Regions from separate parts of the Homo sapiens genome. Here region 1 is linked to region 2. Evidence: promoter capture Hi-C in 16 types of primary human blood cells and fetal thymus (Javierre and others, 2016). All regions are on one chromosome and are shown on one strand. Each heading gives the region's core, a stretch centred on a gene start or on the middle of the fragment in contact. The rest is flanking DNA. Distances are from core to core; before and after follow the strand shown.

Region 1 (5,954 bases), core at 2,651-5,150, about 18 Mb after region 2:
TAAGGACATTTGGCAGTAACATTTTTGGTTGTCACAACTGGAGTTGCTACTACTGCCATCTAGTGGGTGGAGGCCAGGGATGCTGCTCAACACTCTACAGCGCACAGGACAGCCCCCAGCAAAGAATCATCTGGCCCAAAATGTCAACAATGCCAAGGCTGAGAAACCCAGATGCAGTCAAGTATTAAATGACATTGACTGATCTAGAGAAACATTTTCAAATGACCTGGATGGCCTGGGGTAGTGGCTCATGCCTGTAATCCCAGTGCTCTGGGAGGCAGAGGTGGAAGAATTGCTTGAGACCAGGAATTCCGGATCAAATGACCAGGATGAAAATGTCTTTTTTTTTTCCATCCTGATAACATTCACAATTGGTTCACTTCCTCTACATTATCCTTTTTTTTTTTTTTTTTTTTTTTTTGAGATGGAGTCTCACTCTGTCACCCAGGCTGGACTGCAATGGCACAATCTCGGCTCACTGCAACCTCGGCCTCCTGGGTTCAAGAAATTCTTATGCCTCAGCCTTCCAAGAAGCTGGGATTACAGGCGTGCACCACCACACCCAGCTAATTTTTGTATTTTTAGTAGAGACAGGTTTTTGCTATCTTGGCCAGGCTGGTCTCAAACTCCTAGACTGAAGCAATCCGCCCACCTCGGACTCCCAAAGTGCTGGGATTACAGGTGTAAACCACCACGTCTGTTTTTTTTTTTTTAAATCTCCCAAACCAAATCCATTAGCAAGTTCTATCAAGTCTGTTTACAAAAGACTTGCCAAATCTAACCCCTCTCCATCTCTACTCTCATCTATGCAGCATCATCTCCCGCCTGGCCCAGTAGGCAACCTTCCAGCTGCTCTCCCGGCTTCCCCTCTAGCCCCGCACCATCGGTTCTCCTTGCCTCCAGAGTGGTCAGTTTCAAACACTGTTAGAATAAAACTCTAGCTCCTCACCCTGCCCTCAAAATCCAGCATAATCTGAACTTCCCTGGGCTTGTACTTCTCTCCCTGCCCCTGGCTCCAACACATTGCCCTTCTCTCTACCCTCTGCCAATGCTCAATTAGTTCTGACCCTAGGCCTTTGCACCAACCATGCCCTTCACCTGGAATGCCTCTCCTCGGCTGGCATCTACTCTTATTCAGGTCTGGCTCAAATGACAACTGCTTAGAGAACTCTTCTGACCCCTAGTCAATCTCCTTCACAACCCCTCACTTTATTTTCTTTACAGCTCTATCACCATTTGATCGCCATCTGTCTCCCCTCCACTAGGATATCAACTCCAGGGAGCAAGAACTTTGTATATTTATCCCCAGAGCTGGCAGAGTTCCTGGTGGAGGGCAGGCAGTGAGTAAATATTTGTCTAATAAATACATATGGTATAACTCTTTAAACAAAAAAGTAACATAAAGCTGGCCAGGCATGGTAGCTCATGCTTGTAATCCCAACACTTTGGGAGGCCGAGGCAGGCAGGTCACTTGGGGCCAGGAGTTCAAGACCAGCCTGGCCAACGTGGTGAAACCCCGTCTCTACTTAAAATACAAAAATTAGCCGGGCATAGTGGCGGGCGCCTGTAGTCGCAGCTACTCGGGAGGCTGAGGCAGGAGAATCACTTGAACCCGGGAGGTGCAGGTTGCAGTGAGCCAAGATTGCACCACTGTACTCCAGCCTGGGTGACAGAGCAAGACTCTGTCCCCAAAAAATAAAAAATAAATAAAGCCCCTTAAACTCTGATGATGCTTATGCCAAACATTTCACATGAAATGCTTCTTAAACACAAGCCCTACTCAGAATTCACACTCTATTTCTGTGATTTAGGGATTTAATCTCTTGCTATTTCAGGTTCAGGAATCCAGGAGCTAAAAGAAGAACAAACCCAGTGACTCCTGTCTCTTGGAGTCTGGGCCCAAACTAAACTTGGCTACACGGAGAGAAAGCCCTAATTAGTGCAGAACTTAAAAACAAAACAAACAAACAAAAACAGAGCTGGGGGTGGGGTATCTAGCTTCAACTGGTATGGTACTTGTAGATCCTTCTTGGTGAAAAGGCCTATGAATCAGGGTTTCTTTGTTTTCTCCTTTTTTTTTTGAGACAGAGTCTCACTCTGCTGCCCAGGCTGGAGTGCAGTGGCGCCATCTCGGCTCATTGCAACCTCCGCCCCCTGGGTTCAAGTGATTCTCCTGCCTCAGCCTCCCGAGTAGCTAGAATTACAGGCATGCGCCACCACACCTGGCTAATTTTTGTATTTTTAGTAGAGATGGGGTTTCACCATTTTGGCCAGGCTGGTCTCGAACTCCTGACCTCAGGTGATCTGCCCACCTCGGCCTCCCAAAGTGCTGGGATTGCAGGCGTGAGTCACCGCGTCCAGCCTCTTCTTTTTTAAACTGATAAATAAAAATTGTATATATTATGGAATATAACATGTTTTGATATATGTATACATTGTGGAATGGCTCAGTCAAGCTCATTACCATATATGCATTACCTCACATACTTATTTTTGTGTGGTGAGAACACTTAAAATCTACTCTTAGCAAATTTCAAGTATATCATATTCATATATATATTTGGGTTTTTTTTTTTTTTGAGACCCAGGCTGGGGTGCAGTGGCTGAATCACAGCTCACTGCAGCCTCAATCTCCCACCCAGATTCAAGTGATCCTCCCGCCTCAGCCTCCTGTGTATCGGGCTACGGGGGCGTACCACCACACTCAGCATTTTTTTTTTTTTTAAATTAAATTTTTAGTAGAGATGGGGGTCTGGCTATGTTGACCAAGCTGGTTTTGATCTCCTGAGCTCAAGCGATTCTCCTGCAGGCATGAGCCATTGCACCTGGCCCTGGATCAGGGTGTTCTAATTAAACAATGGGATGTGTTTGGACAATCAGGCTGAATGGAAAGGTATATATTATAAGCCTCTTCTAGGCAAAGCAGTTAGCCTTAACACAGAGATGAAAGCTATGACCCCAGCCAGCAGGAAGCTAGGTGATTTTTCCTGTATCAGGACATGTACATTAGATATTCCACCGGCCTCAAAAGCTTTCCTCAGTTGCTCCATCTTATCATTCAGGGATTGGTCCTCATGTCACCTTCTCAGAGACCATCCTGGCCTCACTATCTAAAGCGACCATACACTTTCCTTTTTTATTTTTTATTTTTTTTGAGACAGGGTCTTGCTCTGTTGCCCAGGCTGGAATGCAGTAGCACCATCACGGCTCACTGCAACCTCGACCTCCCCAGGCTCAGATGATCCTCCCATCTCAGCCTCCCCAGTAGCTGGGACTACAGGCACATTCTACCATGCACGCGCCTATAGTTCGGTATTTTTTGCAGAGATGGGGTTTTGCCATGCTGCCTAGACTGGTCTCAAACTCCTGAGCTCAAGTGATCTACCCAAGTTGGCCTCCCAAACTGCTGGGCCACTGCGCCTGGCACCATTCACTTTCCTTTAACCATTTGATTTTCTTTATAACCATCACTTAGATATTTTCTTCTTCTTTTTTTTTTTTTGAGATGGAGTTTCACTCTTGTTGCCCAGGCTGGAGTGCAATGGCGAGATCTTGGTTCACTGCAACCTCCACCTCTCCAGTTCAAGCGGTTCTCCTGCCTCAGCCTCCTGAGTAGCTGGGATTACAGGTATGCACCACCACGCCTGGTTAATTTTGTATTTTTAGTAGAGACGGAGTTTCATTATGTTGGTGAGGCTGGTCTCGAACTCCTGGCCTCAAGTGATCTGCCCGCCTCAGCCTCCCAAAGTGCTGAGATTACAGACGTGAGCCACCCCGGCGCATTTGGTTGATATTTTCTTGATTGCCTGTCATTTTTACGTATTTATTGTCTGTCTCTTTCTGAACCCACCCAAACTTGCCAGTTCACTGCTATTGGGCTACACTGTCTAATAGGGAAATCACATGTGGTTACCAACCACTTGAAATGTGGCAAGTCAGAATTCAGATGGGCTGTAAGTAAAAAATACACAACACGTTTTGAACACTTAGCACAAAAAAAAATCTAAAACATTACATTACAATTTATTTGATTACATGTAGCAGGAATATTTTAGACATGTTGTATTGAAAGAGTTTTTAAATTGTCACCTAGTTCTTTTTTCTTTTTTTTAATGTGGCTACTTGAACATTTTAAATTACATACGTGGCTCACATTAGACTTCTGTTGGTCGGGGCTGGCCTAGAGGGTGCCTGGCACATAGTAGACGTTCAACAAATATTTGCTGAATGAATAAGTGAAGTCTAACCATTGCTCTGAAGATTTCAACTGTTGCCCATTGTATTTCCTTTACAATGGGCTTTATTCCATTTGAAAATAAGTTAAAACTCTGGCCTTTTTTGTACAGTAACTTGGCAGCTCTCAACAACCCTGCCCACACCCTCAAAACGAAGTTGTCAATCTTTAGGAAAACCCCAGAACTGGAAACAGATTTCTGTTAAAAAGGCAGGCTAGCTACAGATTGCTTTCAGATTGAACTGTAAGGAGGCAATGGAAATCAAACGGAAGCTATAAAAAGATTCACATAGGATCTACACAAACAGTAGGGGCCCTTTTAAAAAGAATTCTACGGGTAACACTCACTGAAAAGAAAGCCCTTATCTAGATGGGAAGGAGAGAGAGCTGCCTTTAACTCAATGCCTGACTTCAGCAAACAAAGAAATGTCATTTCCTAAATTAAAAAGTAACACCACCCCAGGGAATACCCAGATTTCAACCTTCCCACCCACAGTAACAAGCCATCAGCAATCAGAACCCTCCAGACCAGGATGAAGCTTGAACTTGGCTGCAAGATTACCATGAAGTTCTGGAACAAATTCTGAGCCCTAGGCCTTGAACCTGCTCTGAAAATTTCTCCTAAGGAAATTACATTTAAACTCGGGTCCTTCAAGACCTGGGACTCCCGGAATCAATTCTAAATCTATCCCAAGTGGGGTTCCGAGGGAAGGTCGTTGGAGGGGAGAGGGCCAAGGCGTGCATGCGTCTTGGGGTTTTTTTCCCCTTGCATAAGAGACACACCTTTCCCACTGAGATTTTATGTTCATCTGGGCTGGCTTGAGGTATATCCAATATCCTCTGACTTCCACGCTGTCTTCTGATGGGGATGGCAGTTAACAAGAATAGAGGCAAGGTCCCCACCCATCAGTGTATCCTAAATTTGCCTGATCATACATGTCACCAGGGATCAGCGTCTCCAGTCCCGCCCCACCTCCACTGACTTAATCTCCAGTGGGAGAGGCTGGGAATAGATTGTTTCAATAGGGAACCCAGACCCCAGACCCCATTTTTACCGGGTCCCAGCCACCCTCCGAGGAAGGTACTAGGATTATCCCATTTTGCAGATCAAAACTGAGACGTGGGTGGCGGTGGTTCAGTGGCTTGTCCACTGTCACGATCACACAGCTTGTGAGGGACAGAGGTGACTCCCATCCAGACATGCAAGTGCGTCCCCTGGCACCTGGGTACCCAGGGGCACCCACCCCCTTGGGGATCTCCGTTTTAGGGCTTGGTGCCCCCCGCCCCGAGTCCCACCCGGGAGCCCCCTCTGTCCCGGTCGGGGGATCTCCTCCCGCAGAAGCCCGATCTTCCCGATCCTGTCGCCGGCGGGAGTCAGGGTGGCGGCCACTGACAACGAAAGTGAAACAAAGCTGGTCGCCGGGCGCGCACCCCCGCCGGCCCCGCGCGGACCTCCCAGGCCGGACGCCCCCGCCGCGTCCAGCCCCCGCCCCACCCCGCCCAGCCCGCCCCGGGGTCGCCTCCCCCCTCCCCGGGGAGAACGGGCCAGGGCCCCGCCGGGCGGGAACGGGCGCGCCCGGCCCCACTCACCTCCGGCCTCCATGGAGGACGCGAGCGGCCCCCGCGGCAGGCGGCGGGCGCCTCAGCCCCCCGGGCCGCGGGCCCTCATGCCGCCCCCGCGCCGCCCGCCCCGGCCAGGCCGCCGCCGCCGCCCGGAGAG
Region 2 (5,916 bases), core at 411-2,910:
AGGAGGCCCCTGGGGCAGAAGCCTACGGTTATGAATGCTTGGGAGGGCTGCACCGGACATCCACGGGATGCTGGGGGTGAGAAGACACTAGAGAGGGGTCAGAGGGAAGGAGCAGAGGGAGATAATGGGTCAAAGTGTCTGAGGAAGGAGACTGGGCTGGGTAGCCCCAGCCACCCGGGCCTAAGCCCAGGTGGAGGGGAGGAGATAGGAACGAGGACGGGATGTGGAGAAGTGGGGAAAGGCAGGCCGACGTTGGCAGGGTGCGAGGAGGCCTTGGAGAAAGGAGGGTGGATGGGGCAGGCCCCCAGGGGAGGCAAGGAGCGCCGACAGAAGGGCCCAGGCGCTTGCAGGGCGCGAGTTCCCACCTCAAGCACCGTGGCGGCTCCCGCGCTGCGCACCTGGAAGTGCGCAGGCTGCTCCGCCGCCTCGTCGGCGCGCTGGTAGCTGAAGCAGGCTTCTGCTATGTCCAGGTGGCCGAGGGGCAGCGGGTCGTGGGGGTTCTTGAAGTAGCAGAGGCAGCAGCGGCGCCCGTCCAACACGAACCGACGGCTGCGGTAGCCACGCAGTCGCGCTGGTTCCCGCGCGGTACCCGCCCCGGGCTCTGCAGCCTCCCCATCGCCGTCGCTGCCCTCCTCTGCCCGGGTTCCGGCCCCGGTATGGCTGCCTGCGCGCCAACCGTTTGTTCCCCGGCCCCCGCGCCTTCGCGCTGCGGCTGCTGCGCTCCCTGCCCCCGCGGTGCCCCCTTCCCGCCGCCCCGCTCCTCTCTCAGGCGCTCAAAGTGGCCTGGAATTTGTAGAACGCCCCCCTCCAAGCCCGTTGGCAGTTGTCCTAGCCCGCTGGCCCTTGCCCCCGCCCGCTGGCCGTTGCCCCCGCGACGCCCCGGAAGCCAGGTCCTGCCTCCCGCACCTGCCAAGTCCCCGCCCTGCCGGAGTCTCGCTCTGTCGCCCAGGCTGGAGTGTAGTGGAGCCATCTCGGCTCACTGCAACCTCCGCCTCCCCGGTTCAAGCAATTCTCCCGCCTCAGCCTCCCGAGTACTTGGGATTACAGGCGCCCGCCACCTCGCCCGGCTACTTTTTGTATTTTTAATAGAGACGGGGTTTCGCCGTGTTGGTCAGGCTGGTCTCAAGCTCCTGACCTCAAGTGATCTGCTTGCCTTGGTCTCCTAAAGTGCTGGGATTACAGGCGTGAGCCACCGCGTCCGGCCCAAAAGCCTTTTTTGGATGAGAAAGACTCACTCAGCTTCGTCCTGAAGAGCAAGTGGGCTGGGGAAGAGGAGAGTATGAATGTGAGTCCAAGAGCAAGTTTTGCACTTTTTTCTTCAAAGAATGTCACCGTCTGAAGAATGCGATTGGAAGACACACACACACACACACACACACACACACACGCAGCCGGTTCTCTACAGGATTAGAAAAAACTTGCGCGAATTAATCTGCGTAGTTAAAAACAAATACGAAATGAGCGAGAAAGCACATAGTAGTCAAATCTCGCCACCACATAAACAGGTTAAGTTTGGAAGCACAGCCCCTAACATTCGGTGCTGCTTAGCATCTCCGACTTCCGGCGTCCTCCGTTGCTAAGGTGACCAGAGGCGCGTCCTAACGCTCCGCCCAACAAACCATAGAGTACCGGAAAAAGCTCGAGCAGAGGGGTCGGAAAGGGAAAACAACTACGGCTGCGGTGTGGTTGGTGGTGAGATGACGACCTTAGTGCTGGATAATGGAGCTTACAACGCCAAAATCGGTTACAGCCATGAAAATGTGTCGTAAGTACTTTCTTTCTCCGAGGGACAAGATATATACGCCTAGTGGTTTCATGTGCTACGTTTCATCTCCGGACATCAATGAACTGCAGACACCCCCGCGCGGCCCTGACTTAGCCAGAGGGATTCCCTGGTTGGAGCTGGGTGGGTGATTGTGATGCTTTGAATTGAAATTGATTTTGGTTTTAGTTTTGGGCTGCGAGGCCCCGGAAGTGGGATATATGTTTTATTTCGTAACAGGAAATAGCCAAAGAAAATAGGCTTATAGAGATGCGTTCCTGACAGAAGGGTCCGTAAAGTTCATCAGCCTTTGGAAACTATGGGCACGGTGTTTGGGTGTATGCGGATTTTCCTGGGTACAAGATTATAGGTTTCATTAGATTCTCAAAGGGTTCTATGACCCTCCAAAAGTCTAAAAATCACGGTCTTAGGATCTAGAGGCTTTGAAGACTTTGGCCTACTGGCCGACCTAGTTGGTAAGGTCAATTAAACAGAAGTACTGTTAATACAATGGCATTCATAACATGTATAGTCATAAAATATATGTTTGAATAAATAAGCAAACCTAAAGACACGCCTTTCCTTTATCAAATTAACAGAGCATTAAAAAAAATTCTTTCCTTCCTCCCTCCTTTCCTTCTTTTTCATTTCTTTTGAAACAGAAATGAAAGAGGGAAATCAAACTGAGTAGGAATGTAAATTGTTACAATCTTTCTGGAAAACGTTTTGGCAATGTGTATCATTATCATTGTCACCGAGGCTGGAGTGCCGTGGTGCGATCTCAGCTCACTGCAGCCTGAATTCAAGTGATTCTCCCGCCTCAGCCTCCAGAGTAGCTGGGATTATAGGCGTGCACCACCACTCCCAGCGAATTTTTTGTATTTTTGTTAGAGACGGGGTTTCATCATGTTGGCCAGGCCGGTCTCGAGCCCCTGGCCTCAAGCAGTCTACCCGCGTTGGCCTCCCAAAGTGCTGGTATTAGGGGCGTGAGCCCTACACCCAGCTGACAAAGCAATTTTTTTTTTTTTTTTTGGAGAGGGAGTCTGGCTCTCTTGTCCAGGCTGGAGTGCAGTGGCACGATCTCGGCTCGCTGCAACCTCTGCCTCCCGGGTTCAAGCCATTCTCATGCCTCAGCCTCCCAAGTAGCTGGGACTACAGTTGCGCACCACCACGCCTGGCTAAGTTTTGTATTTTTAGTAGAGACGGGGGTTTCACCATTTTGGCCATGCTGGTCTGGAATTCCTGACCTCGTGATCTGCCTGCTTCAGCCTCCTAAAGTGCTGGGATTACAGGTGTGAGCCACCGCACCGGGCCATGACACAGCAATTCTGTTATTACCTAGAGAATTAATTAGAAGTGCTTTGTATTATTCATAGTCATCGTATACAGGCAGCCAAAAAATGGGAAGGAAGCTAAATAATCAGGAATAGCATATTGGCTAAATACACCAAAATACAACCTGAGACTGATAACAAATTCAAGCTTCTTAAAATTATGTCTTCAAAGAACATTTAAACATGTAGAGAAAATGCTGACAGTATTATAAGTGAAATAAGCAGGTGTAAAACATTTTTTTACAGTATTATCCCAGTGTCATCTCGTATACACATACAGACACATTTGTATGCATACATGTGTGTATAATTAATAATGGCTCTAGTTTGTCTTCCAAACCAGATTGTAAGCTCATGGCAAGCAGCAAGAGGCCCAGGTGGGTGGATCACGAGGTTAGGAGATCCAGAGCATCATGGCTAACACGGCGAAACCCTGTCTCTACTAAAAATACAAAAATTAGCCGGGCGTAGTGGCAGGCGCCTGTAGTCCCAGCTACCTGGGAGGCTGAGGCGGGAGAATGGCGTGGGCCTGGGAGGCGGAGCTTGCAGTGAGCCGAGATCACGCCACTGCACTCCAGCCTGGGGCGACAAAGCGAGACTCGGTCTCAAAAAAAAAAAAAAAAAGTTGCTACTTCTGTACCCTGTAGCAGCAGCAGTCTCCAACCTTTTTGGCACCAAGGACTGGTTTCGTGGAAGACAATTTTAACGTGTGGTTGGGGGTATGAGTGTGGGCGATGGTTTTGAAATGAAACTATTCTCAGGTATTAGATTCTCACAAAAAAAGTGCACAAACTATATCCCTTGCATGCACAGTTCAAAATAGGGTTCCTGCTCCTATGAGAATCTAATGCTATGGCTGATCTGACAGGAAGTGCAATTTAGGTGTTAATGCTTACGGCCCCACCCTCCTTCCCCACCCTGGTGCTCACCTCTTGCTATGAAGGCTTGGTTCCCAACAGACCACAGACAGGTACCGGACCACAAGCCCTGCGGTTGGGGATCCCTGCCCTATAGCATCTTGCTGATTGAAGATCTTTGGCTTCATGGGAACTTAATTTATTTTATTTTTTTGAGACAGAGTCTTGCTCTGTCGCCCAGGCTGGAGTGCAGTGGCACAATCTCTGCTCACTGCAACCTCCGCCTCCTGGGTTCAAGCAATTCTCCTGCCTCAGCCTCCCCAGTAGGTGGGATTACAGGCATGCACCACCATGCCCAGCTAATTTTTATATTTTTTAGTAGAGATGGGGTTTTACCATGTTGGCCAGGCTGGTCTTAAACTCCTGACCTCATGATCCGCCCGCCTCCGCCTTCCAAAGTGCTGGGATTACATGCTGTGAGCCACTGCTCCCGGCTGGAAACTTAATTTTTATGGCCATAATTTTTAACTTGTGAATCTTTTTTTTTTTTTTTTTTTTTTTGAGACGGAGTCTCGCTCTGTCGTCCAGGCTGGAATGCAGTGGCGTGATCTTGGCTCACTGCAAGCTCTGCCTCCCGGGTTCACGCCATTCTCCTGCCTCAGCCTTCCAAGTAGCTGGGACTACAGGCGCCCGCCACCAGGCTGGCTAGTTTTTTGTATTTTTAGTAGAGACAGGGTTTCACCGTGTTAGCCAGGATGGTCTCGATCTCCTGACCTCGTGATCTGCCTGTCTCGGCCTCCCAAAGTGCTGGGATTACAGGCATGAGCCACCGCGCCCGGCCTAACTTGTGAATCTTTAATCCAAATGGTATTAAGACTTTCTGTGTTAAAGCCAGAAAGACTAGGACCTTTACCAAAGCACTGGCTTTCGCCTCTGCAGTGGCGGAAGCAATACTTACCTGTAAGGATTTCTTGAGGATTATTAGAGAAAGAAAGGATCCAGTATAGAACTTGTTACATACTGAACTTTAAAAAAAAATGGGGGAGGGGCATTTTTGTGTTATTATTATTTTAAAATAGAGACAGGGCCTTGTTCTGTCCACCCAGGCTGGAATGCAGTAGTGGGATCACAGTTCATTGCAGCTGCAGACTCCTGCGTTTAAGCAATCCTCCTGCCTCAGCCTTCCTCTAGAAGATAGGAATATAGATGCTCATCACCATGCCTGCCTGATTCGTATTTTTCTCTTTCTGTTTTATTTTATTATTAGTTTTGAGACTGAGTTTTGCCCCATCACCAAGGCTGGAGTGCAGGGGTGCAATCTCAGACCACTGCAACCTCCATCTCTCAGGTTCAAGTGATTCTCATGCCTCAGCCTCCTTAGTGGCTGGGACTACAGGCATGTGCCACCATGCCTGGCTAATTTTTGTGTTTTTTTTTAGTAGAGGTAGGGTTTCACCCTGTTGGCCAGGCTGGTCTCGAACTCCTGACCTCAAGTGATCCATCCGCCTTTGCCTCCCAAAGTGCTGGGATTACAGGCGTGAGCCACCATGCCCAGCCTTATTTTTTATTTTTGTAGAGACAGGTTCTGGCTATGTTGTCTAGGCTGGTCTTGAACTCCTGGTCTCAAGCAATCATCCTGCTCCCAAAGTGCTGGGATTATAGGCATGAGCCCCCACTCCCAGCCTTTGGTATTATTTTAAGACAGAATGAGAAACACTGGATATACCAATCTTAGGATACGCTAATCTTTTGGCATCAAGAGTGGTGGTGAAGTAAAAATGTTTTTAGGAACTAAATATTTAGGGGATAATTATTTGTTTCCTTGTTTCTAGGGTTATTCCTAATTGTCAGTTCCGGTCAAAAACAGCACGTCTTAAAACTTTTACTGCCAACCAGATAGATGAAATAAAAGACCCTTCTGGACTCTTTTACATCCTCCCTTTTCAAAAGGTAATCCAATTAA

What was found. The method cuts DNA at HindIII sites, captures the fragments that hold promoters and counts their contacts. A CHiCAGO score of 5 or more calls a contact.
Region 1: a fragment that was not itself captured here is called in contact with the fragment with the promoter of ACTR6 in region 2 in 1 of 17 cell types (non-activated CD4 T cells); the score reaches 7.6 in non-activated CD4 T cells.

What each region holds. Positions count from the first base shown.
Region 1 is chr12:118,055,212-118,061,165 of GRCh38, forward strand. It overlaps WSB2 (WD repeat and SOCS box containing 2), which reads right to left. Exons shown (of 9, transcript NM_018639.5): 1 at 5,825-5,954. The coding sequence starts at 5,837. Among named protein-coding and RNA genes, the nearest start is that of WSB2, 3.0 kb to the right of the region's middle. RefSeq lists a silencer at 5,378-5,427. The HindIII fragment of the contact is 1,742 bases long and covers 3,030-4,771 here.
Region 2 is chr12:100,199,155-100,205,070 of GRCh38, forward strand. It overlaps ACTR6 (actin related protein 6), which reads left to right and starts at 1,661. Exons shown (of 11, transcript NM_022496.5): 1 at 1,661-1,765; 2 at 5,786-5,903. The coding sequence starts at 1,698. RefSeq lists a silencer at 605-964 and enhancers at 1,457-1,751, 1,725-1,924, 2,769-3,456, 3,457-4,142, 3,774-3,833. The HindIII fragment of the contact is 11,223 bases long and covers 1-3,242 here.